5 separate regions of the Homo sapiens genome follow, and regions 1, 2, 4 and 5 are each linked to region 3. Evidence: promoter capture Hi-C in 16 types of primary human blood cells and fetal thymus (Javierre and others, 2016). All regions are on one chromosome and are shown on one strand. The core of a region is centred on a gene start or on the middle of the fragment in contact, and the rest is flanking DNA. Distances in the headings are between cores, read along the strand shown. Region 1 overlaps NSL1 (NSL1 component of MIS12 kinetochore complex). Region 2 overlaps INTS7 (integrator complex subunit 7). Region 3 holds the start of PACC1 (proton activated chloride channel 1). Region 4 overlaps DTL (denticleless E3 ubiquitin protein ligase adapter). Region 5 overlaps DTL (denticleless E3 ubiquitin protein ligase adapter).

Region 1 (4,379 bases), core at 950-3,449, 340 kb before region 3:
GTGCTATGCTTGTACAGCCTGCCGAACTGTGAGCCAATTAAACCTCTTTTCTTTATAAATTACCCAGTCTTACATATTCCTTTATAGTAATAAAACAGACTAACACCCTGGTCTCCTTCCATCCAGTTCTACTTTTCACACAGCATCCAAACAATTTCTTTTAAAGCATAATCAGATTATGTCACTCCCTGTTGAAGGCCCTCCAGTGGCTCCCCATTATAATTCCTTTGGTCTAAGAGGCCCTCAATGATATGGTCCCCGGCTGCTTCTCTGATCTCATCTCTGACAGTGTTCACTTACCATCTCACCCTCGCTTACTGTGCTCCACTAACACTAATATTCTTGCTATTTCAGGACATACCAAGAACACACTGGCCCTACGACTTTCATACTCGCAACTCCCTGTATTTGAAACTGCTCTCCGAAACTACCTGCCTGACTCTTGCACTTCATTCAGCTCTCTGTTCAAAGTGTCACTTCATCTGATACACCTTACAACCTGTGTCAGATTCTCTTATGACTCCCTTGATCATACTGTATCCCTTTAACCTGCTTTATTTTTCTCTGCCACTTACAGATATTATATAATTTCTCCTTATTTTCCTCTTCCCTCCCCACAGTATTGTAAGCTCCCTGTGAGCAAGAACTTTGGGATGCCCAGTTTTCCCTCTTTTTTCTTTTCTTTTCTTTTTTTTGAGACGGAGCCTTGCTCTGTCGCCCAGGCTGGAATGCAGTGGCACGCTCTCAGCTCACTGCAACCTCCACCTCCCAGGTTCAAGTGATTCTCCTGCCTCAGCCTCTAGACTAGCTGGGATTACAGGCACCCGCCATCACACCTGGCTAACTTTTGCATATTTAATAGAGACAAGGTTTCACCATATTGGCCAGGCTGGTTTCAAAGTCTTGAACTCGGGTGATCCTCCCACCTCGGCCTCCCAAAGTTCTGGGATTACAGGCATGAGCCACTGCGCCCAGCCCCTGACTCTTAAGATTATTTTCTGACATGGTACACTCAATAAATATTTATATTTTTGCAAACAATACATAATTTTATATAAATAGGATTGAATTACATATTACATTGTCCCTTTTAAAAACCAAAGTCGGCCGGATGCAGTGGCTCACACCTGTAAGCCCAGCACTTTGGGAAGCTGATCGCTTGAGCACAGGAGTTTGAGACCAGCTAGGGCAACATGGCAAAACCCCGTCTCTACAAAAAATACAAAAATTAGCCAAGCATGGTGGTGCATGCCTGTAGTTCCAGCTACTCGGGAAGCTGCAGAGGGAGGATCATTTGAACCCAGGAGGTCAAGGCTGCAGTGAGCTATGGTCCTGCCACTACACTCCAGCCTGAGTGACAGAGTGAGAACCTGTCTCAAAAAAACCCAACAAGGATAGCATTGTATTTTTACTTTTTGTTTTTGGTTTCTTCTCTCTCTTCCTGTCACCCCTTTAGATATCCAACATTAACCTGGTATGAATTCATTTATCCTTTTTTCTGTGCTTATATAATTGTTACAGGAATAAATATGCACTGGACATTTTGGGGGCATAATTTACAGAAAATTTATTCATGTGTTCAAATTATCTGCAATTTCCTAGCTTAAGTTTATGGTAGACATCCTCCATTCGACTGCCGTAGCTCTAACCTTATTGTTTTAAATTGTGGTTATCTTTTAAATTGTATTTCTTGTGCTTTTAATAAATGCAAGCTTAATGTAAAATTTTTAATAATTACATATAGATATATATGAAAATATATACATATTCATATTTATATGAAATATACCATAACTTCGCCTCCCAATCTGTCACATCCCACACATCTTCAAATAGGCAACTATTATCAGTTTGCTGTGTCTAATTTTAGATCTTTATCAATGCATTTGTATGCACATAGGTAGACACAGGGGTTTTTTTAGTTGTTTATATAAATATTACATAATGCATTTTATTCTGTCATTGTTTTTCTTTTTTCACTCAACATGTAACATAGTTCAACTCCATGGTTTTTATTGGTAATTTTTTTCTTGCTTATATACACAGAGACAATTTTATTTAAATAATATTATATATGTATTTTTGTTTTTTGTGAGAGATTATTTGGTTTTGCTAGATTCCTCTTTTCTCCCATCTTCCATTAACATCTCCATATATACTTTTATCTGAGGACTCCTATATTCTAGAAAATCTTTAACCTAATCCTTCAACTTTGCTTCTTTCTCATTTCTTCTATTTTTGTATTTTATGTTTTTATTTTATAACCTATTTTTCTTTTGCAATGTCTTATGATTTTCTTTAGCTATTGGAGCTGTGTAGCATTTTAAAGTCATTTTTATATTGCTCTATTTTCATTTCATCTGCAGTAAATTCCTCTCCCTGACATTGGTTATACTGGCTGTCTTTCATGGTTTTAATTTCTTCATGTATTTTAGACTTTTGATTTGCAAGTGCTTCTTGACTAGAATTTTTCATGTGCATATCTGTCTACCACTGCTTTCACTCCCTCTGTCTAGTAGGTTTGGTTGCCTTCCATCTGGCCCCAAACAATCCCAGGCTGGAGCCATATCTTAACACTGGCAACAGAGGGCCTCTGTCCCAGTGTGACACTGGAGATTGGTCCAGGCCCAGGCTTGGAGGCATTATCTGCTTCCCATCATTTCTGGTTTAGCTTTAAGTAAGCTTTGCTTCCTGGCAGCGGTTAGGAGCAGTTTTGTCTTTTGAGTTGGTTTTTTTTTTTTTTTTGAGACAGAATTTTACTCTTGTTGCCCAGGCTGGAATGTAATGGTTGCTCACTGCAACCTCTGCCTCCTGGGTTCAAGTGATTCTCCTGCCTCATCCTCCTGAGTAGCTGGGATTACAGGTGCCCACCACCACGCCCGGATAATTTTTGTATTTTTAGTAGAGGCGGGGTTTCACCATGTTGGCCAGGCTAGTCTCCAACTCCTGACCTCACGTGATCCACCCATCTCAGCCTCCTTAAGTGCTGGGATTACAGGTGTGAGCCACCGCGCCGGGCTGGTTAGTGGCAGTTTTTTTCAGCCACCTTTTCAGGGTGGGTAAACTCTGTCTCAGCCCTCGGTTTCAAACAGTGAAGCTGTCTCTTCGTTTCCTGTTCTTCTGGAGCACTTCGAACACCTTTTATCTTGCAGGAGGCCAATTCCTGGCTACTTCTGCTTACCGGTAGGCCTGCAGCTTTAGCCTGACTTGCAGCTTTTTCTCTTCTCCTTTTTTTCTGGTTCATTGAAATGTTTTATTTTGTATATGCTTTAGGATATGTCATTTTAATTTTCTATATTCACTGATGCTTTTGGACATAGGAAGGGAGTTTTATGCACTACTGAAATCAACTTGACTAGGAAGTCTTAGGATACTTTTAAAAATGCAAATCAGTTTTCAGTCCTCTGCTTAAAATCCTAAACTCTAGACTTTTAGCATTCCCTTAGGTGATCTGGCCCCTACCTACCTCTCCAGATTTATTTCAGGCACTTTCCTGTTTGCTGCCAGTCTTTCAGTTCTTTGAAAGTGCCTCACTGTCACACATGCATGCCCCCTTGCCCAAGTTTGACATCTTCCCAGTTCTCTTTTCTCATTTAAATGTTACCTCCTCAGAGAGATCTTACCTAACCACCCTCATTAAAATACTCTCCCCAGTTGTTTATCATGACACCTGTTTATTTCCTTAATAGTACTTGTTACAGCTTATAAGTATTTGTGTTTATTTTCTTGTTTATGCTCTCTCACAAAACTGAAAGCTCCATGAGTTTTTTAATATTATATTTACATTATATATAGCCAGCATATAGCAGCATGCCCAATAAATACATCATGAGTGACTGTTACTCATTGGTCCATTCAGTTGTATATATTGAATGGCTACAGTATGACAGAACTGTTCTCAATGTGGCAGATGTAATATTAGTGAGCAGCACAAAGTTCTTACTCTATAGAGTTTATATTTTAGTGGGAGAAGAAAAGTAATAAATATAAAAATAAATAAGTGACATCAGTGCTTTAGGGTGGTGTGTTTAGGTGATGGGGAAACACTTTTCTGAGGTAGTAACAGGAAGGAATTTATCTGGTGATGATCAAGAAAAAGAGCTGTCAAGCAGAGGGAAGAGCTAGAATAAAGTTCTTAAATCAAGAATGAGCTTGAGTATTCATGGAACAAAAGACCAGAGAGGCTGTAGTGAAGTGAGTAATAGAGGGAAGAAGCATTGCAAGACAATGTCAAAAACTTGGCTGAGGCCAGATAATAACGAGCGAGGGTCAGGAGTTTGAAAGTGTGCCTTAAGAGAGGTGCAACATGGTACTGAAGGAGGTGGTGAGGTGTAGGTGGGAAGGTGTGCTGCAGAGGATTTCATCTACTGAGCAAATGG
Region 2 (3,913 bases), core at 1,296-3,795, 400 kb after region 3:
TCCTCAACCACTGCTTTCTTGATCTTGAGGACATTTGAAAATCATCATACCAATATTTACTGATGTGGGAAAAAAAGATTGGGAGCTCTTACTTTTTTTTACTTTGTGTATCTGCTTAACAGCAAAAATGTTGTATTCTTAATGCTTTGCTGAAATGGACTTCTTTATGCAACATTGGAAAATTGATATTTTGATGCTTTAATAATTCAGAAGTTTCCTTCCTGGGCTGTTTGGTACCTGGGAGGTACTTCAAGGTGATTGTTAAAAATTTTGCTTTTTAGATAAGCCATTTTAATTTTTCTGACATATTGAAATATGTAAAAGCGTTTAAAATTTGAGTCATGGATTTCTAAAGTTATGCTTTATTAACTGGAGTTACATAGAATTACCTATAAACTTTAGTTTTGATAATCTGACTTTGCCTTGCCTCTTACTTTTCTGACCTTGACTTTATTTTATGCCCGATCTTCTTGGGTTTCTCTGTTTCTGTAGGATGTTGGGAAGTCTGGCATCAATAATTCCTGAGAGGAAGAATGCTCATCATAGTATTCGTCAGAGTTTAGATTCACATGATAATGTAGAAGTTGAAGCTGCTGTTTTTGCTGCTGCAAACTTCTCTGCACAGTCAAAGTAAGCTTACAAAAGTACATCCCTTTTAGTAATTTGGCTTCCCAAGAAAAATTTTTGAAGGAAAAACTGATCAACTTATATAAACACTGAGAGATACAGGAAAGTGTAAATTACAAGGTGTGTTTTCCAAGAAGGTTTACCTTATGTTGGGGAAACAAGACTTAAATTCATAAAATGGAAAATGTAAGTACAAATGTTGGCATTAATTGTGTAAATGAAATGAGTTTCCAGAAGGACAGGATCAGCATAGATTAGTTGGAGAAGGCTTCATTGGGTAGCAGAAGCTTTGTTGACTGAGGAGCTTCTCCCAGACATATAGATCTGTAATACTAAATTGCTTACTTACTGTCTTCTAATGTTAATTTGTTTTGCATTAGAGCTGTCCACAGTTTGGCAAAGACAATAACTTGAATTAAAACCAATTTTAACCTATTCAGAATGTCATGTCCTACACTGTTGTTTTACAGAACAGTATTTTGTTTTGGGCAGGAGGATTAAATGTTGACCATGGTTTTATTACTATGTTTGATTGGCTTCTCTTCTGTAAAAGAAAATACAGTATCTCCCTGACTGACAGGAAAAGTAGCATTGCCTTCTGGGGTGCATTTTGGTAATATGTATGAAAAGCCTTAAACAAGTACATCCCTTTGACCCAGGAAATTCACTTCTAGAATTTATCCTAAGATAACAGCAATATGTACTGATAATTATTTGTATGGATGCTGGTTGTAGTGTTACTTGTAACAACAAAAGAAATGAGAAGCAACCTAAATTTCTTCCATTGAGCTTAGATAAATTATGATCATACAATAGAATACGGTAACAACTTAAAACCAATGTTTTTAGAAACATATTTGGAAGCAGGTTACATAATAGGTTATGTAATATAACAGGTTTGTTTTAAAAAACCCCAATAGCTTATATAATGTAACAGATTTGTTTAAAAAAAATAAAAGCCGTAATATTTGTATTTATGCAATAGAAAAAAAGACTAGAAGGATATATATCAAAATCTTGGTAAGATGGTATATAATTTTTATTTTCTTTTTATAAATTTCTCTATATCTCTATATCTTGGCATGAGCAAGTTCCAGTTTTATAACCAGGTGAATAATAAATTTTTTGAATCCTGAAAAGTTAACTTTTTTTTTTTTTTTTTTTTTTTTTTTTTTTTTAGTATTTATTGATCATTCTTGGGTGTTTCTCGGAGAGAGGGATTTGGCAGGGTCATAGGACAATAGTGGAGGGAAGGTCAGCAGATAAACATGTGAACAAGGGTCTGTGGTTTTCCTAGGCAGAGGACCCTGCGGCCTTCCTCAGTGTTTGTGTCCCTGGGTACTTGAGATTAGGGAGTGGTGATGACTCTTAACGAGTATGCTGCCTTCAAGCATCTGTTTAACAAAACACATCTTGCACCGCCCTTAATCCATTTAACCCTGAGTGGACATAGCACATGTTTCAGAGAGCAGGGGGTTGGGGGTAAGGTTATAGATTAACAGCATCCCAAGGCAGAAGAATTTTTCTTAGTACAGAACAAAATGGAGTCTCCTATGTCTACTTCTTTCTACACAGACACAGTAACAATCTGATCTTTCTTTCTTTTCCCCACATTTCCCCCTTTTCTATTCGACAAAACCCCCATCGTCGTCATGGCCTGTTCTCAATGAGCTGTTGGGTACACCTCCCAGACGGGGTGGCGGCTGGGCAGAGGGGCTCCTCACTTCCCACACTTCCCGGGCAGGGGCTGCCCCCCACCTCCCTCCCGGACGGGGCGGCTGCCCGGGCGGGGGCCGCCCCCCACCTCCCGGATGGGGCGGCTGCCGGGCGGAGGCGCTCCTCACCTCCCAGATGGGGCGGCTGCCAGGCGGAAGGGCTCCTCACTTCTCAGATGGGGTGGCCGGTTAGAGACGCTCCTCACTTCCCAGACGGGGTGGCGGCCGGGCACAGGCTGCACTTTGGGAGGCCAAGGCAGGCGGCTGGGAGGTGGAGGTTATAGCGAGCGGAGATCACACCACTGCACTCCAGCCTGGGCAAGATTGAGCACTGAGTGAGCGAGACTCCGTCTGCAATCCCGGCACCTCGGGAGGCCCAGGCGGGCAGATCACTCGCGGTCAGGAGCTGGAGACCAGCCCGGCCAACACGGCGAAACCCCGTCTCCACCAAAAAATACAAAAACCAGTCAGGCGTGGCGGCGCACCTGCAATCCCAGGCACTTGGCAGGCTGAGGCAGGAGAATCAGGCAGGGAGGTTGCAGTGAGCCGAGATGGCGGCAGCACAGTCCAGCCTCCGCTCGGCATCAGAGGGAGACCGTGGGGAGAGGGGGAGGGGGAGGGGGAGGGAGAGGATAAATTTTTTTAAAATTTAAAAAATAGTATTTGCATACCCTCCTCTTCAGCTTTTTTTTTTTTTTTTTTTTTTTTGAGATGGAGTTTTGCTCTTGTCATCCAGGCTGGAGTACAGTGGCGCAATCTCGGGTCACAGCAACCTCCATCTCCCAGGTTCAAGTGATTCTTCTGCCTCAGCCTCCGAAGTAGCTGGGATTACAGGCGCCTGCCACCATGCCCAGCTAATTTTTGTATTTTTAGTAAAGATGGGGTTTCAGCACGTTGGCCAGGCTCGTCTTGAACTCCTGACCTCAGGTGATCCACCTGCCTTGGCCTCCCAAAGTGCTGGAATTACAGGCGTGAGCCAGTGTGCCCGGCCCCTTCAGCTATTCTTATCAAACCTTCAGAGTTCCAGGAATTCTTACTGAAAAAGTAGATAATAGAAAGCATATAATTTTTAATTTCACAGATCAAAATTAATAGATGCAGCAGTAATTGATGATCAGAAATACCTGAATAAGTACAGTTCCTATTTGTGCCTTTGAAAATAAGCATTTTTTTCCCTCATTGAGAGAGTCGTTGGTATTGAGAGGACTTTTAAAAATTTCAGTCACACGTCTCTTAACTATGAGGTTACATTCTGAGAAATGCATTGTTAGGAAATTTCATCATTGTGCAAACATTGTAGAGGACTTACACAAATCTAGATGGTATAACCTACTATACACCTAGGTTATATGGTATAGCCTGTTGCCCCAGGCTGTAAACCTGTACAGCATGTTTCTGTACTGAATACTGTAGGCAGTTGGAACACAGTGGTAAGTATATGTATATCTAAACATAGAAAAGGCTCAGTAAAAATATGGCATAAAAGATAAAAATGGTATTCCTGTATAGGGCACTTACCATGAATGGAGCTTGCAGGACTGGAATTTGCTCTGGGTGATCAGTGAGTGAGT
Region 3 (3,865 bases), core at 970-3,469:
CTCCTGAGTAGGGAGGCTAGGGAGGCTGGGATTATAGGTGCCCGCCACCATGCCTGGTTAATTTTTGTATTTTTAGTAAAGATGAAGTTTTACCATGTTGGCCAGGCTGGTCTCGAACTCCTGACCTCAGGCAATCCGCCCGCCTCGGCCTCCTAAAGAGTTGGGATTACAGGCGTGAGCCACTGGGCCTGGCCTTAAACAATTCTTAAGCAAAAGCCTTATGATTCCAATGTCAGAAATCCTACCTGTAGGAGCAGTGGAGATGCAAATGGTCAGTATCTAGTGCTACATGACTTTTGGCTACAAGGAAGTGGGTCAAATTACAGCCTGATTAATGCTTAATTATAACTCTATTTCTGTGCAGAATTCGTGTTAACCCTGTGAGGATGGCTTCAAAGTGAGGTAGGAGCAAGCCGGGAGTGTGTGGTGTCCTGGAAGCCAGGGAGGAACGCGTATCAAGGAGGAGGGAGGATCAGCCAAGTCCACTGTGGCTGATAAATCAAGAAAGAGGAGGATGGGAAAATGGCCATCTGATGTGACAACACTGAGGTCACTTGTGACCTTGACAAGCACTGTTCCAGTGGAGTGGAGGGGAGTAAAGCCTGACTGGTGTGTGCTCATGAAGGAATGGGAGAGAGGACTTGGGGGCTGCAAGGACAGAACATTATTTACATGTTTATGATCTGTCTCTCCACAGTTGCATGAAAGAGCCACGAAAGCCAGGACCCAAGGGTATCTTATCCATTTCTGTATCCCAGTGCCCAGCACATTGTATTTGTTAAGCCATATTTTATATTTTATTAGCCAGTATCTCCTTCAAATGTGGGAGCCCATAATTTTCCAGTTTGGTCACACCAACAAAGACTAGAGAGGAATGACAGGGTTGGAATAGAATTCTCTGGTTCCTTCCAGCTCTAATATTCTATGATGGTGTGAACTTGTTCTATCAAGTACCATTGTATTAACACAGTAAGGAATTTAATTAGTGGTCTGCTATTGTTAATTTGTTTTGGTAAGCAACTGTTAAATGAAATGGCTGGAATCAGTGTTCCATTCATAAATTTAACAAACATTTGTCGAGTGCCTACAATGTGTTAGGCACTATATATATTGTCCCATATAACAGATTTAAGAGCAGAGGGCCTAGGATAGGGGTGAGTGGTCAGGAGAGGTGATGGGGACCTCCCATTGCTAATGCTCCAGGAGGTCCAGGGTTCTTTGATGTGGCTGGCACTATTCTGCTTATCACTGAGGAGAGAAGAGGCTCCCAGTGGCCTGAGTGGAGGGGTTACCAAGCTGCAGCTGCAAGGGACACAGAGCAGCATTCACCAAGGCACAACAAGCAGCCTCTATCTGCTTCACCACTGAGGAGCCGAGGGCCCTCACACAACAGCTGTTTCAGGCAGTGGGAGGAGAGGAAGATGTGGTCTTCAGGTCCACCCTGCCACAGGGCCAACACCAGATTTGACGCCACATCTAGCGCTTGAGGCTTCTTCTGTGGCTGAACAGCGGCTTTAGGCTTTCTCTGCACGATCCTTCCTTTCTGCTTTCATAGGCCTTGTCAGGCAGGGCAGGGTTTAGCAGTTGCATTCTAAGGCGAGGAGAGGAGGGCTCAGAGCATTGCAAGACCTAAAGGGGAGGGTCAGAGCCAGGACAAGAACCTAGGGGTACTCCTGCCCCTGGAATAATGGAGAGAACATGGGCTCCGCAGTCTACCCCTGGATGAAATAATCTTCATTTGATTACCGCTCCACCCGCATCCTTTCTGAAACAAAGTACCTCAGTTTCCTCATTTGTAAATTAGGGAGAAAAATGTCCTTCTTACAGGGTTCCTTGCAGAATCAACGGCATAATGTGAGTGAGAGCGCTTTGTAACTAACATACAAAGTGCTCTCCAGACATTTATTACCGTTTTAAACCGCCAGGCCAAGCTTCCTCTTGCAATTATAGATTAGGGGCTCCTACTCATCTGACTTTGTTCCACTTTCCACTCCTCTTCTCCGTCCCTCCCCCTCCAACAAAGAGAGGAAGTGAGAGACGCAGAGGCACGCGTCTAAGGACCAGCTTAGCTGGCCCAGGGTCACATGCAGGCCTCCGCCACAGGGGTGAGAGCTGGTGTGAGGGGCGCCCCCGCCCAGAACTACATTTCCCATCAACACTTTCGCGACTCCTGGGCGGCAGCGGCCAGGCGCATGCGCCGAGTATCGCCACGCCTGGTCTCTGGGACGCCCCTCCGGACCGGTTTCGCCTCGCGGAGCCGGTAGGTCCAGGTGCAGCGGCCGCAGTGCTGCGTCCGTGCGCCGCGGGCTGGGGCGGTCTCAGGTGTGCCGAAGCTCTGGTCAGTGCCATGATCCGGCAGGAGCGCTCCACATCCTACCAGGAGGTACGAGGTTGTGAGAGACGGAAGGGAAGTTTGAGGCGGAGGAGCAGGGTCCCGGGGGCCTGGGCGGATGCGGGGCGGGGGGTGTCGGGGCTGCGCGGCAGAGGGCTCTTCCGAGGGACCGACGGGTGCGTCAGGGGAGGGCTCCCGGGGTGCAGAGGAGCGGCCCAGGGGCAGGAAGGAAGCGGGGCAGCGGAGCGGGCGCCCAGCGTTCTCCGTATGCTGCGGGTTGCATGGCCGAGGTCCGGAGTAGGGTCCCCGGCGCCGCGACCCGTAACCAGCAGGTGAATGATTGAAGCTACCTGAGGCCCAGCCTTCCGCGCTCCCCGCCGGAGCGGCAGCCCAATGGCCCAGAGGAACCCGGCGTTCTTTGCAACAAGTGGAGCGCCCGCGCCCTCCTCCCGGCGAGATCTGATGCGCGGTCGGCATCGTCGGCATCCTCCCCCTCCAAGCCCAAGGCCTCGCTGTCCCCGCGGCTGGTGACAGGATTGATTACCTGTTTTTTGGTGACCACCTAACTTTGAAAAAGTGCCTTCATGGACTCTGCTAGTTCTCGCTCCTCTTCGTCTCTCCCTCCAGTCTCACCTCCTCCCACGACTTTATCACTTTCCAGTTCTTTGTCTCTTCTCTGTCCTGCGCTGCAGGCTGTGCGTCCAGCGCTTCCTTCAAGCAAGCCCTGCCTCCTCACTTCTCCAGCTGTATTAGTGAAACTGCTCTCCTCCTCCGCCTCCACTTCTCGGCCCCCAAACCTTGGTCATCTTTGGCAACCGTCCTCTTCTGTGCCCCTCCATCGTGCCGCCTCATTGGCCAAAGTCAGGCAGTTCCAGGTCGGTCCTCCTCCAGTTTGTGTCCCTGTGTTTGCTGTAACCTCTGAGTGCGATACTGTGTTACCATCGCTCCCTTTAGTCTCTTATACTCTCCAGATTTGCCTTGAGGCCCTGCCTTCACCTCGGAGCATTCCTTTTTTCTCAGACCTGACGCTGCCCTTCGTCTGCCCAGAACAGTCCAGACTTCTCAGCAGGCTCCCAAAGCTCTGAACAGCACAGCAGCCATGTCTCCCATTACCTTTGCCACCTCCTAACCCACCTAGGGTCTGGCACAGTGGAAACTCAGTTTTAAAATGTGCTCCTGCCTCTGTGCGTGTGCTCACTCCATTCCTTCATCAACGCTCCGCCAAGCTCCATTGGGTAAAATGCCCCCAGAAGTCAAGGGCTACCTCAAGTTCCATGTGTTCCATAGGGGTCCGCTTTCCAGACCCGTCTGCATTTCTGTCTGTCCTTCTCATAATGAACTTGCTGCCTTCTGTCTTAGTCAATAGTTACTGCTGTACATATCTCCCTTTGTAAAAGACTGATTCACAGAAGGGCTTTGTGGACTATATAAAGCAGGTGGCTTAGCCCTACAGTGGAGGGAGAAGCCAACTTGAAGGCAGATGAGATTTGCCTAAGGCTTGCCATTTTTTAGTGTAGGATCTTGGCTGGAATC
Region 4 (4,111 bases), core at 23-2,522, 360 kb after region 3:
GCTTAGGATTGCTTTGGCATTTGGGTTCTTTTTGGCTCCACATAAATTTTAAGATTGTTCTTTCTACTTCTGTGAAAAATGATGTTGGTATTTTGATGGGGATTGCACTGAATCTGTAGATTGCTTGGGGTAGTATGGCCATTTTAAAAATAATAATTTTTTCCCATCCATGAGCATGAGGTCTCTTTCCATTTGTCTCCTCTTCAATTTCTTTGATCGGTTTCATACTTTTCCTTATAGAGGTCTTTCACCTCTTTGGCTAAATTTATTCCTAAGTGTTTTATTTTTTTGTAGCTATTGTAAATGGGATTGCCTTCCTGATTTCTCTCTCAGCTAATTCATTATTGATGTATAGAAATGCTATTTTTTTTGTATGTTGATTTTGTATTCTGCAACTTTTAATGAATTTATCAGATCTGAGGTTTTTTTTTTTTTTTTTTTTTTTTGTAGAGTCTTTAAGTTTTTCTAGATATAAGATCATAACATCAGCCAAGGAAAATACAACTTCTTTTCCAGTTTGGATACTTTTTACTTCTTTCTCTGGCCTGATTGCTCTGGGTAGAACTTCCAGTACCATGTTGAATAGGAGTGGTGAAAAGCGTGCGTCCTTGTCTTGTTCCAGTTCTCAAGGGAAAGGCTTCCAGCTTTTTTCGATTCAGTGTGGTGTTAACTGTGAGTCTGTCATATACAGCCTTTTTATGTTGAGATATGTTCCTTCCATGCCTAGTTGGTTGAGTTTTTTAATTCGGAGGAGATGCTGAATTTTATCGAATTATTTTTCTCTATCTACTAAAATGATCATATGGTTTTTGTCCTTCATTCTGTTGATGACGTATGTATCATGTTTATTGATTTGTCTATATTGAGCTATTCTTGCATTCCTGGGATAAATCCCACTTGATCATGGTGTATTTTTTTTTTTTAATGTGCTGTTGAATTCAGTTTGCTAGTATTCTGTTGAGGATTTTTGCATCTATGTCCGTATGTTCTGTAGTTTTTTTGTGTGTGTCCTTGTGCTTGTCTGGTTTTGGTATCAGAATAATGCTGGCCTTGTAGAATGAGTTAGGGAGAATTCCCATCCTTTTCAATTTTTGGAATAGTTTGAGAACTGGTGTTAGTTCTTTAAAAGTTTGGTAGAATTCAGCAGTGAAGCCATCTGGTCCTGAACTTTTCTTTGTTGGAAGACTTTTTATTATTGCTTTGATCTTGTTACTATTGATTTGATCAGGTTTCCTAGTTCTTTCTGATTCAGTCTTGGTAGGTTGCATGTGTCCTGTAATCTATCCATTTCCTCTAGGTTTTCTAGTTAGTGTATAGTTGTACACAATAGTTTCTGATGATCTTTTGTATTTCTGTATTATCAGTTGCAATGTTTCCTTTTTCATTTCTGATTTTATTTAAGACCATCTTTCTTTTTTTTCGTGGTTAGTCTAGCAAGTACCTTATTGATTTTGTTTATCTTTTCCAAAAACCAACCTTTTGTTTTGTTGACCCTTTTTCTTGTTTTTTTAAGTCTCTATTTAGTTAGGCTCTGCTATTTATTATTTCCCTCTATTAATTTGGGGTTTGGTTTGTTCTTGCTTTTCTAGTTCCTTGAGGTACATTGTTAGATTCTTTTAAAGTCTTTCTACTTTTTTGGTATAGGTGTGTATTGCTATAAACTTTCCTCTTAGTACTGCTTTTATTGTATCCCATGGGTTTTGGTATGTTGGGTTTCAATTTTCATTTGTTTCAAGAATTGTAAAAATTTCCTTAATTTCTTCCTTTACCCAAGTCATTCATAATCATACTGCCTAATTTCCACGTATTTGTAGTTTCCAAACTTCCTTTTGTTGTTGATTTCTAGTTTTATTCCATTGTGGTCTGAGAAGATTCCTGATATTATTTCAACTTTTAAAAATGTGTTGAGACTTGTTTTGTGTCTTAACATGTGGTCTAGCTTGGAGAATATTCTGTTTGCTGATGAGAAGAATGTGTATTCTGTAGCTGTTGGATGAAATGTTCTGTAAATATCTCTTAGGTCCATTTGGTCTAATGTGCAGTTTAAATCCAATTTTCTTTCTAGATATCTGTCTAACGCTGAGTGGGGTGGCTGAAGTCCTCAACTGTTATTGCACTGGAGTCTCTCCCTTTAGATCTAATAGTATTGGCTTTATATATCTGTGTGCTCCAGTGTTAGGTATATACATGTTTACAATTGATATATCCTTTGGCTGAACTGATTTATCATCATAGAATAACCTTCGTTTCTTCTTACTGCTTTTGACATAAAGTCTGTTTTATCTGATGTAAGTATAGCTATTCTTGCTTGCTTTTGGTTTCCATTTGCATGTAGTATCTTTTTACATTCCTTTATTTTCAGTTTATACTTGTCTTCACAGGTGAGATGCGTTTCTTGTAGGCAGCATATAATTAGGTCACATTTGTCTATTTGCCCAGTCTGTACTTTTCAAATGGAAAGTTTAACATGTTTACATTCAACGTTATTGATATGTGAAGGCTTATTCCTAACTTTATTGATTGACTTCTGGTTGTTCTGTATATCCTTTGTTCCTTCCTTTCTCTGGTACTTTTTATCATTATGGTTTCATGGTATTCGGTAGTGGTAACATTTCAGCCTTTCCTCTTTCTTGTTTGTGTGTTTGCTTACCAGTAGTTTTTATATTTTCTTGTGTTTTCATGACAGTAAATATTGCTCTTCACTTCCCGGTATAAGACTCCTTTTAGTATTTTCTGTACGGCCCATCTACTGGTGATTAATTTCCTCAGCTTTTGCTTGTTTGGGAAAGACTTTATTTCTCTTTTATTTATGAAGGATAATTTTACTGGGTGTAGTATTCTTGGGTGGCAGGTTTTTTTTTTTTTCTTTAAGCATGTTGAATATATCATCTCATTCTCTCCTGAACTATAAGATTTCTGCTGAGAAATCTGCTGTTAGGTCTGATGGGGTTTCTTTTATAGGTGACTAGATGTTTTTTCTCTGCTTTTAGAATTTTCACTTTGTCTTTGACTTTTGAGTTTGACTACAATGTGCCATGGAAAAAAAACCTTTTTGAATTATATCCATGTGGGGATCTTGGAGCCTCCTGTATGTGGATATATAAATCCCTTGCTAGACTTGGGAAGTTTTCACCTATTATTTTGTTAAATAGGCTTTCTAACCCTTTCATTTTATCTTTGCCTTCTGGGACACTGAAAATTCATATATTTGGCCACTTTATAGTGTCCCATATGCCATGAAAGCTTTAGTCATTCATGTTTATTATTTTTTCTCTATTTTTGTCTGAGTAGGTTATTTTAAAAGATCTTCAAAACATCTTCAAGTTCTGGGATTCTTCTGCTTGATCTAGTCTATTGTTGAAGCTTTCAAAGGTATTTTGTATTTCATTAAATGAATTCTGTAGTTCCAGAATTTAGCTCTATTTTATGATACCTATCTCTTTGGTAGATTCCTCATTCATTTCCTCAATTATTTTTCTGTTTCTTTGTATTGTCTTTCAGAATTCTCTTTTCTCTCACTGAGCTTCCTTAGTATCAGTATGTTGGATCATTTTTCCAGGATTTTGAGAATTCCTTTTTGATTGGGATTTGTTGCTGAAGAATTACTGTGTTCCTTTGGATGTGTCACATATCCTTGCTTTTTGATTTCTCTGTGTTTTTATGTTGATATTTGTGCACCTGGTGTAACAGTTGCTTTTTCCAATTTTTTGAATTTGGTTTGTAGTGGAGAACATTTTCCTGAAGATGTATCTATGGTGATGGTTGGAGAGGACACTTGGCTTTGGTTCTGGATGCAAGCAGTAGCATAGTCTCTATCATTTCTTTTGGCCATAGAGTCATTGGTATCTGGTTTCGTTGGTAGATTAGAGTGTGGTTTTTAGTGCAGACTGGTTAAGTTTTGCCAGAAATTGAAATACCAGGTGGGCCAGTCTTCAGGCCCCAGTGGTGGCAGCAGTGGTCTGAGCCTGTGTGTCCTTTGGCCCCAAGGCAGCATACGCTGGCACTGGTGTTAATGGATCCAGGCAGGTAGATTCTTGGGCCTTCAGATGACTTACTCAGGTATTGGAAATGGCAGCAGTGGGCCAGGTGGGTGGGCAAATTCTTGAGCCCC
Region 5 (3,972 bases), core at 1,197-3,696, 330 kb after region 3:
AAACTAAAAAACTAGAAGAAAGCATTGGAGTAAATCCTTGTTACCTCAGAAGAGGCAATAGTTTCTTTGATTTAACATCAAAAGCATAAGTGACAAAGGAAAAAACAGATAAACTGAACTTCATCAAAATTATAAAGTTACATGTGTCAAGAGACACCATCAAGAAAGTAAAAACACAACCCACAGAATAAATCATTGCAAATCATTACATGATAAGGGACTTATGTCCAGAATATATAAAGAATGCTTACAACTCAACAATAAAAAGACAAATAACCCAATTAGAATATGGGCAGAAGATCTGCATAGACATTTCACCAAGGAAAATATATAAATGGCCAATAAGCACATGAAAAGATGTTCAGCATCACTGGCCATCAGGAAAATATAAATCAAAACCACAATGGGACACTAATTCACACCTGCTAGGATGGGTATAATGAAAAAGATGGACAATAACAAATGTTGACAAGAACATAAGAGAAATTGGAACCCTCATTTTAGGTGTTGAAGATATTCTAGAATTAGATTGTATTAATGACTACATAACTCTAAATATAGTTGACTCTCTATATCTTGAGTTCTGTATACTGGGTTCCACAGCCATGCATTCAGTTGACTACAAATTGAAAATATTAAAACAAAAACACGAAAAAAGATGGTTGTGTCTGTACTAAACATGTGCAGACTTTTCTTTCCTGTCATTATTCCCTAAATGATATAGTACAACAACTATTAATATACCATTTATACTGTACCAGGTATTTTAAGTAATCTAGAGATGATAAAAGTATATGGGAAAATGTACATAGGTTATAGGCAAATACTACATCATAGATAATGAATCTGAGCTTCTGTGGACTTTGGTATCTGTTGGGGGTTCCTGGATCCAATCCCCCATGGATCCTGAGGGACAACTGCATACTAAAAGGAACTGAGCTGTATCTTGATTTAACCAAAATCATGACCCTGTGTTAGGAGGATGAGGAGTATGAAGGTTTGATAGTGGTGGGACACAGGAAAGGGAGTTAAATCCTCATGTTACAAAGGAAAGAAGTTAATAAAGCTGAAAATTGCAAAAAATAAATAGAAATGCACAAAACTATTTAGAGGTCTAGACATACATATCAAAGAATCAGCAAAAGGATTTGAAAGAGGTTGCCTCTGGGAAAGGGAAACTATGAGGCAGAGGGTCTGTGGACTGCTATTTATCTTATTCACTGTTGTAGAACTAGCTGACTTATTAAACTGTAATACTAAATTAATGAAAAAAAATTTTTAGGGCTGGGCACGGTGGCTCACGCCTGTAATCCCAGCACTTTGGGAGGCTGAGGCGGGTGGATCACCTGAGGTCAGGAGTTCGAGACCAGCCTGACCAACATGGTGAAACCCCATCTCTACTAAAAATACAAAAATTAGCTGGGCATGGTGGCACACGCCTGTAATTCCAGCTACTCAGGAGGCTGAGGCAGGAGAATTGCTTGAATAAGTGAGCTGAGATCATGCCACTGCACTCCAGGCTCAGCGACAAGAGTGAGACTTTGTCTCAAAAAAAAAAAAAGAAAAGAAAAAAAGAAATTAAAAAAAGCAAAGAGCAAAAACAAATAAGGCAGCACCATCAAAGACTACAGAAACCAGACTTAGAGCAAAAGACTCCTCTGAAGTCTAGTTCTGCATCTTATAAGCAACTAAATAAGTCCTTAGAAAAATGAACCTGTATATTTTCCCTTTCTCACCTTCAATTCCCCATTAACCTTAGGCCTTGATGGCTGAAGTAAAATGAATCTTTAAGCTTAAAACTCAAGCTTAAAGATAAGACAGTTTGAAACAGTCACTGAGAGAATATAAGAGTAAATGGACAGGGAAATATGATTGTTGGCCAGTAAGAGTCAACTTGAGGCTAGCAGTAATTAATTGAAAGTGAGCATTCCACAAGGTTGTGTGTTTACCATGTAAGTACAAGTATACAGCACATCTAATGATACCCTGAGGATCCACACTGTGGGTGGCTCATTGCTTGAAGATTTTTGCTCTTGGTTCATTGTTACTCTCTTCAACATTATCTGTCAATTTATGGTGATTAAAAAATCTATGTACATGATCTTTCCAATACCTTGGTTTCTCAGTTTTTTGACCTCCTTCTTCTATAATCTTGTCCTTTCACTCTCCTAAGCCACTTATTCTTTACCTTATTATTACCAATACCTGGAAATCTTCCATTATCTTAATTTCAATCATCCCACTCATCACCACTTATTTTCCCATCTCCCTTTAGTATTTCAATTCCAACAATCTTTTATCCTCAATCCACTGCTAGTACCACATTTACACTATCCCTTGGCCCCATTATGTCCTTACTTCCCTCCTGATATGGTTTGGCTGTGTCCCCACCTGAATCTCATCTTGAATTCCCATGTGTTGTGGGAGGGACCTGGTGGGAGGTAATTGAATAATGGGGGCAGGTCTTTCCCATGCTGTTCTCGTGACAGCAAATAAGTCTCATGAGATCTGACAATATTATAAGGGGGAGTTTCTCTGCCCAATCTCTCTCTTTGCCTGCCGCCATCCATGTAAAATGTGACTTGCTCCTCCTTGCCTTCTGCCATGATTGTGAGGCCTTTCCAGTCATGTGGAACTGTAAGTCATTAAACCTCTTTCTTTTGTAAATTGCCAAGTCTTGTACATGTCTTTATCAGCAGTGTGAAAATGGACTAATATGCCTCCTTACCAAGGTTATATCTTATAGTCATAATCATCCTCTTTGCATCCACTGTCAACTTCCTTCTTCACTTGCATTGCTAAACCACATCCCTGGTTAAATCTAGCTCTCTACCTATAGTATACTTGTACTTGCATAGCAAACACACAACCATGTGGAGTGCTCACTTTCAATTAATTATTGCTAGCCTCAAGTTGACTCTTGAAGCCCAACAATCATATTTTCCTGTCCATTTATTCCTCTATTCTCTCAGTGACAATTTCAGACTTTCTTATCTCTTCTAAAATCTCTACTCCCTTTCTCCCTTATCCTCATTCGCAGTTAATAACCCTGATTCATGTTTTAACATCAGAACAGAAGGAAGCTTCTGTAAGTTATGGCCATCTCATCTCTCCACCTCTCTCCCCACCATCTCTCAGTAGCCTACCTGCACCATGCTTATATATTCCACCTTTTCTCCAATTACTATGGGTCAACTATCCATGTTCCTGGCAAAGGCCTACCCTCCTACTGTGTATCAGATAGTATCCCCTCATGCTTAACATTGCTCCAGCAAATTCCCCTGCATCAATCTCCCCCTCTCTATACGATCCTGCCAATCACTGTGAAATGTTATATTCCTATTTAAAAAAACCCCAGCAAACTTCAACCCTGCTTCTTTCTCCAGCTACCACTTCACTTCTCTTCTTTCCTTTATAACAAAACTCCTTGAAAGAACTGTCTATACTTGTAGTCCCCAAGTCATATACATGAATGACACCAATCAGGCCACCATCATACCACCAAAACAACACTCATTAAGGTCACCAAATAACCCCTATGATTGCCTAATCCATTGGTCAGTTTTTAGGCCTCACCTTATTTGGTATACCAGAAACATCAAATCAAGTTCATCCCTCTCTCCTCTTATTTACTTGGCTTCCAGGATGTAACACTCTCCCAGTTTTTCTCTTACTTCTCTGGTTGTGGCTGCTCAGTAGGCTTTAATGGTATTTGTCACCTCCTCAACCTCTAAACATCGGGGTACCCCAAGACACCAGGCCTATTTTTTTCTATCTATAGCTATCTTCACCCTGTGTGATAATGAACCTCACATCTGCAACTTCAACCCTGAACTGCAGAATTAAACATCGAAATGCCTCCCTGACATGTCCATTTGGGTGTTTAATAATCATATCAAACAACATGTCCAAATGGAACTCCAGCTGTTCCCTCCCAAACTTGCTCTTCCTGCAGGGATATTTATCTAGGTT

What was found. Contacts are between HindIII fragments. The CHiCAGO score rates a contact against its expected background, and 5 or more counts as called.
Region 1: a contact is called between a fragment that was not itself captured here and the fragment with the promoter of PACC1 in region 3, in 1 of 17 cell types (M0 macrophages). The highest score is 5.1, in M0 macrophages.
Region 2: a contact is called between a fragment that was not itself captured here and the fragment with the promoter of PACC1 in region 3, in 9 of 17 cell types (fetal thymus, naive CD4 T cells, non-activated CD4 T cells and 6 more). The highest score is 7.2, in fetal thymus.
Region 4: a fragment that was not itself captured here is called in contact with the fragment with the promoter of PACC1 in region 3 in 17 of 17 cell types (megakaryocytes, fetal thymus, endothelial precursors and 14 more); the score reaches 12.2 in megakaryocytes.
Region 5: a fragment that was not itself captured here is called in contact with the fragment with the promoter of PACC1 in region 3 in 14 of 17 cell types (fetal thymus, total CD4 T cells, naive CD4 T cells and 11 more); the score reaches 9.7 in fetal thymus.

The regions. Positions count from the first base shown.
Region 1 is chr1:212,753,136-212,757,514 of GRCh38, reverse strand. The region is part of intron 4 of NSL1 (NSL1 component of MIS12 kinetochore complex); the gene reads left to right. Among named protein-coding and RNA genes, the nearest start is that of NSL1, 36 kb to the left of the region's middle. The HindIII fragment of the contact is 970 bases long and covers 1,715-2,684 here.
Region 2 is chr1:212,013,603-212,017,515 of GRCh38, reverse strand. INTS7 (integrator complex subunit 7) reads left to right here. Exons shown (of 20, transcript NM_015434.4): 4 at 493-630. Among named protein-coding and RNA genes, the nearest start is that of INTS7, 20 kb to the left of the region's middle. The HindIII fragment of the contact is 3,257 bases long and covers 917-3,913 here.
Region 3 is chr1:212,413,240-212,417,104 of GRCh38, reverse strand. It overlaps PACC1 (proton activated chloride channel 1), which reads left to right and starts at 2,219. Exons shown (of 8, transcript NM_018252.3): 1 at 2,219-2,383. The coding sequence starts at 2,348. RefSeq lists a silencer at 2,508-2,567. The HindIII fragment of the contact is 5,506 bases long and covers 1,934-3,865 here.
Region 4 is chr1:212,056,115-212,060,225 of GRCh38, reverse strand. The region is part of intron 5 of DTL (denticleless E3 ubiquitin protein ligase adapter); the gene reads right to left. Among named protein-coding and RNA genes, the nearest start is that of MIR3122, 19 kb to the left of the region's middle. RefSeq lists a silencer at 2,093-2,293. The HindIII fragment of the contact is 3,947 bases long and covers 1-3,245 here.
Region 5 is chr1:212,081,796-212,085,767 of GRCh38, reverse strand. All of the region lies in intron 13 of DTL (denticleless E3 ubiquitin protein ligase adapter), which reads right to left. Among named protein-coding and RNA genes, the nearest start is that of MIR3122, 6.2 kb to the right of the region's middle. RefSeq lists a cis regulatory region at 3,474 and an enhancer at 3,390-3,559. The HindIII fragment of the contact is 1,278 bases long and covers 1,808-3,085 here.